Linked DNA regions of Homo sapiens: region 1 is linked to region 2. The links are contacts of gene promoters, found by promoter capture Hi-C in human tissues and cell types (Jung and others, 2019). All regions are on one chromosome and are shown on one strand. The core of a region is centred on a gene start or on the middle of the fragment in contact, and the rest is flanking DNA. Distances in the headings are between cores, read along the strand shown.

Region 1 (2,981 bases), core at 452-2,951, 400 kb before region 2:
ATACTCATCAACTGCAAAGGAGCTGATTGTAAATATCCCATGTGTTCATCTAATTGACTTAAAAATCGGCTCATGACCACTGGCCATTCCACAGCATGACCCATCACATTTCTTCTATGGAGGTAAACCAAGTCTTCAAAAAGTTGTAATAATTCTTTTGTGAGTACCCCAAAAATAGCAGGACTCTTGCTTTTAAAAAGAAATAATAATGAACAGATGACTTCACAGATTTTCTTGTGTAACAAATGACAGGAGGGAGTTGCTGCAATCCGCAGAAGTCTCGTTATGATCCAATTACTGAATTCTTTGAAATAAACAAAAAAGATATTAAATAAACAAGTATATCCGAAGTGCTAATTCATTTGCTAAATCCTTGACGATTGACTTTTAAAGAATAAACTTCACTAACAAGAGTGTAAAACATTCTCTTCACAATGGAAACATAATAGTTTAGAACACAGGCATACCCAGTTTTATTGCACGTTGCAGATACTGCATTTGTCACAAATTGAAGGTTGTGGTAACTCTGCATCAAGCAAGTGTATCAGTGCCATTTTTCCAATAGCATGTGGTCACTTCATGTCTCTGTATCACATTTTGGTAATTCTCAAAATATTTCAAACATTTTCATTATTATCGTATCTGTTATGGTGATCTGTGATCAGTGACGTTTGATGTTACTATTGTAATTGTTTGGAGCTGTCATGAACCACACCGATATAAGGTGGCAAACTTAATGGATAAATGTATGTGTTCTGACCCACCGACCAGCAGTTCCCCATCTCTCTCCCTCTCCTTGTGTCTCCCTATTCCCTGAGACACAGTATTGAAATTAGGTTAATTAATAACCCTTACAATGGCCTCTATGTGTTCAAATGAAAGGAAGAGTCACACATCTCTCACTTCAAATCAAAAGCTAGAAATGATTAAGCCTACTGAGGAAGGCATGTTGAAAGCCAAGACAAGTTGAAAGCTAGGCCTCTTTCACCAAACAACCAACTTGTTAAAACAAAGAAAAAGTTTTTGGAGGAAATTAAAAGTACTACTCCACTGAACGCACCATTGATGAGAAAGTGAAACAGCCTTATTGCTGGTATGGAGAAAGTTTTTGTACTCTGAATAGAAGATCAAATCGTTAAAAGATGAGGAAATTTCCAGTAGGAAAAAAAGAAGATCAAACCAGCCACAACATTCCCTTAAGCCAAAGCCTAATCCAGAGAAAGGCCCTCAACATCAAGGCAAGACACTCCACCAGCACAAATATTACAACTTGTTGAAGGATGATATAATCGTTAGCATTTTTTAGTAATAAAGTATTTTTAATTAGGGTACATACATTGTTTTTTAGACATAATGCTATTCCACACTTAAGGTACAACGTAAACATAACTTTTATATGCACTGGGAAACCAAAAAATTCATGTGACTTACTTTATTGCAATATTCACTTTATTGTAGTGGTCTGGAACTGAACCCACAATATTTCTGAGGTATGCCTGTAACAACTTTGGAGTCAGACAGGCAAGGTCCTAGCTTTCCACTTACTAGTTGTATAAACTTTTCATTTCTCTGAACCTCTGTAATTTCATGTATAAGGAGAATAATGCTATCTATGTTATGGGTTACTGTGAGGACCAAATAAGAAAATGCACATGAAATACTCAGCACAGTTCCAAAGTAAAATAAATGTTCAATAAAGGGTAGCTATTGTCATTCTTTCAACTAAAATTTGAGTGGTGACTCTGTCTCAGGTACACAAGAATAAATCAGTCATAGTCCTGTCCTCATGAATCTCACAGTACAGTTTCTTGAGCTTTTTGACTGCAACAAAGAAATAACATTTTATATCATGACCCAGTACATATACATGCATTTTATTTAAATATTTAAAACAAAAGGTTCATTAAATAGTACTTACTCTTATTACATACAATGTACTATAATATTTTCTTTTTTTTTTTCTTGAGACAGGTTCTCACTCTGTTACCCAGGCTGGAGTGCAACGGCATGGTCTTAGCTCACTGCAATCTCTGCCTCCCAGGCTAAAGCAATTAGTGTGCCTCAGCCTTCCAAGTAGCTTGTACCACAGGCATGTGCCACCATGTTCAGCTAATGTTTTTCTGTTTTGTTTTGGTTTGGTTTGGTTTGGTTTTGGTAGAGACAGGATTTTGCCATGTTGCCTAGGCTGGTCTCGAACTCCCAAAGTGCTGGGATTACAGGCGTGAGACATCGTGCCCAGCCTATGATATTTTCTAGTTTATTTCATCTTGTTTTAAATGCTGATAATTGCCTAATTTCATAACCCACTAGTGGGTTATGACCTGTAGTTTAAAAACTACTGTAGGAAAGAATATAGACAAACCAATGATTAGAGCACAGTTTAATAGCCTCTATGATAGATGAAATGCAGAACACTTAGTACTAAGAGAGAATAAAGGAATAACCAAGCCAGTTCTAAGCAGTTAGAAGTAGTGCTCAGAAAAAAACTTCTTGGAGGACATGCTATCAAAGTTGAGTTAAAGTTTGAACAAAAAATTTTAAAATACTTTATCCATTATACAAAAAAAATGTTTATTTTGCATCTCTTTATGAAGACACCAATGAAGGGACAAAAGTAGTAGGTGCAATAAAGAATAAGCCTAGAGAAAAGCTTCAATATATAGAATAGCGGTCAGCAAACTTTTTTTAAAGGACCAGATAGTAATATTTTTGGCTTGAGTGCCCAAGTTGCCTTTGTAGTAGTCACAGACAATAAGTAAAAGAATGAGCATGGCTGTGTTCTAATAAAACTTTGTTTACAAAAACTGAAGCCAGGCACAGTAGCATGTGCCTATGGTCCCAGGTATGCAGGAGGCTGAGGCAGGAGGATCCCTTGAGTCTACCAGTTCAAGACCAGCCTGGGCAACATAGCGAGACCCTGTCTTATTTAAAAAAAAAAAAAAAAAAAAAAAAAGGAAACAAAACAAAACACCAAAACTTTG
Region 2 (2,813 bases), core at 1-2,500:
CGAAAAGACCCGGCTGGATGCGCTCGGGGATCTTGCTCACGTTGAAGAAGGCGGCCACCACCAGCCAGAAGTAGCGGCGGTAGAAGTGCACGAAGAGTGTGGGGTTCTCCCCACGCAGGTCGAAGAGCCAGCTCTCGAGCATAATGGGGCAGGCCATGCTGAGCGGCATGACGAAGACGAAGGTGCGCAGCGCGAACGGGTAGGTACACCAGTCGGTACGGCTCTTGCAGCAGGCCACAGTGCAAGCCACCGCCAGCACGAAGGCCACAGGCAGCACCAGGGCGCGGTAGGCGGCGATAAGGCGCGTGCAGTCCACGTGCCAGCCCAGGCGCTGCTGCAAGTATGGAGTCATGACTCTGGCATCCAGCAAGCTGAGGCCTGGCAACAGGTAGTAGTAGTAGGCCACCGTGCTGCCGAAGCCGTAGTAGCTGATGGACGCGTAGTCCAGGTAGAAGAAGGCGGCGCGCAGACGCAGCGACAGGCAGCTGAACACGTGCGCCGTGCAGCTCATGGCGAAGGTCAGCAGCACTCCCGACGCGTAGCACCACAACGGTAGCAGCCACGGGTGGTGGAAGGGCACGTCGCCGCCGCTCAGGAAGAACAGACGGCAGAACTTGCTCAGGAACAGCAGCAGCGGGATGAAGTGCGTCCAGAAGTTGAGCGTCTCGTTGGTAGGCTTCAGCACCGAGGCTAGGCACTCCTGGGCCGTGCACGGCAGACGCCGGTAGCCCGACAGGATGAAGCACTCCACGAAGTCGTCGGGCACCTCGTCCCAGCGCAGCAGCGGCTTGGCAGACGCTGGGGGGTCCCGGGAGGCGGCAGAGTGGGAGTTCCGGGCGGCCCCCGAAGCTGCCGGGGCCGGGGCCGGAGGGCCTTTTGTGCCCGCGCCCCGGGGCTGCAGGCGCCGCGGCATGGTGCCCGGGGCTCGGCTAGGGCGCGCGCAGGCGACCTCTGGCGCCGGCTCCCGGGCGCTGGGCAGCCCCCGCCGGCCGCCGTCGGAGCCTTTGTGCCCACGCCGGGGGCGTCGCTGCAGGTTTAGGAGAAGACCCGTGCCTCCGAGCAGCCGCTCCTAAAAATTAAATAAATCAATAAGAGAATCAATTAATAGGCAGCGCTGCGACCGCCAGGAGCGCGGAGCGCGCGAGGCTCAGCGGCTTCCTCGCCAAGCCCCTGCTACCGGCGCGCGGCCGCCCGCGCTGCGGCAGCGGCGGCGGCGCGGCTGACTGCGGCGGCAGCGCGGCAGCGGTGACTGGGCATCGCGCGGTGCGGGTGCCTCCGCCGCCGCCGCCCCCGGAGCGGGAGGTGGGGATGTGCGAGCCGAGGCGCGGAGGGAGGGACGGGCGCACCGAGGAAGGGCGGGGGCCTCCCAGGCTAGGGTTTCGCGGCCGCTTCGGGGGATAGAGTTGTCCCCTGTCTCGAGTTCCGTACCATCCCCCTCCTCGGGCCGCCGCAGCCCGGGCCGCCCCGTTAATGATTGATGCGGGGGCCGCAGGCTGGTCGGCGACGCGGCGGCGCGCGCGCCGAGTACTAGAGTCGGCCCTGGGGTTCGAAACCCGACAGCCACGCGGGCGTTCTGGAGGACACTGGGGAGCCGCGTTCGCGGGGGGCGGGGAGCTGCGGCTGCGGGGGGAGGGGAGGGCGCCGGAGCCGGGCAGGGCGGAGAGATGCGCCAGCGGTAATCTCCGGAGGTCGCCGGGGAGGGGGGCACTCCGGAAGTCGGGGGGCTTTAAGCCCGCGTCCGGATCGGGGCCGTGTCATTGTCAGCTACCTGGGGATGCGCCTCTCGCTCCCTCACTGTCTTTGCGTGTGTGTTAGTGTGTGTGTGTGTGTGTGTGTGTGTGTGTCGGCCTGTCTACGCACTACACGAAGGCTTAGTTGGTCTTCTTTCGTCTAGTGGGCGCACTCAGGTGCGTCACCATTCTGCCGTTTCCCTCGCCCTTGTCCTGTCCGAAAGAACCGTCCGCAAGCTGCCCTGTGGTCGCGCTCACCAGCTCTTCGAGCCGCAGCTAACCCATCTTCTTGTTTTTGTGTCTTTAACTAGGACTTCTATTTGGAACTGAGTCCGACAGCTCAGGACTGGCTGCTCAAACTCCACAATTTAATGAAAAATCTCAGATGATGACTCAGAAAACCTCTAATGATCTGAGGAATATATTAAGGGATTCCAGAGTCAAAGGCTGATCATGGAGGGCATTGATGAGGGAAGACTTCAGGTAGGAGGTGCATTCTAGCAGGAACTGAAGAGAATGAAGTCCAGTTGGTAGAAACGGAGGGGGTGGCTTGGATAAATCTTATATGTAATTAATCAGAAGTACCTGGCAGGTGGCTGGAGACCAGAAGAAAGGAACACTGGAAGAATGAAAACGGTTGTGATGCACTGCAGTGTGAAAATATGCCCTTGAGCCTTAAAGAAAGGGGCTTAAGGCCGGGCGCGGTGGCTCACGCCTGTACTCCCAGCACACAGATCACGAGGTCAAGAGATTTGAGACCATCCTGGCCAACACGGTGAAACCCCGTCTCTACTAAAAATACAAAAAATTATGTGGGAGTGGTGGCGCACGCCTGTAGTCCCAGCTACTCGGGAGGCTGAGGCAGGAGAATCGCTGGAACCCAGGAGGCGGAGGAGGTTACAGTGAGCCGAGATCGCGCCACTGTACTCCAGCCTGGCGACAGAGCGAGACTCCGTCTCAAAAAAAAAAAAAAAAAGAAAAAGAAAAGAAAGGCTACTTTCATCGCTACTGCACATCCTCTAAGTAGGTTAAGGAAGATTTACTTAGTAGAGCCTCAAGATGGATTTAAGTTATGGATAAGAA

What was found. Contacts are between HindIII fragments. The study calls those that stand out against the background at their distance.
Region 1: a fragment that was not itself captured here is called in contact with the fragment with the promoter of PAQR9 in region 2 in 1 of the 25 tissues and cell types used here (small bowel).

The regions. Positions count from the first base shown.
Region 1 is chr3:142,562,806-142,565,786 of GRCh38, forward strand. It overlaps ATR (ATR checkpoint kinase), which reads right to left. Exons shown (of 47, transcript NM_001184.4): 4 at 1-304. Among named protein-coding and RNA genes, the nearest start is that of ATR, 14 kb to the right of the region's middle. The HindIII fragment of the contact is 4,616 bases long and covers 1-2,981 here.
Region 2 is chr3:142,962,424-142,965,236 of GRCh38, forward strand. PAQR9 (progestin and adipoQ receptor family member 9) reads right to left here and starts at 1,251. Exons shown (of 1, transcript NM_198504.4): 1 at 1-1,251. The coding sequence starts at 913. It overlaps PAQR9-AS1 (PAQR9 antisense RNA 1), which reads left to right and starts at 1,635. Exons shown (of 5, transcript NR_125393.1): 1 at 1,635-1,675; 2 at 2,042-2,213. RefSeq lists a silencer at 280-465. The HindIII fragment of the contact is 8,480 bases long and covers 1-2,813 here.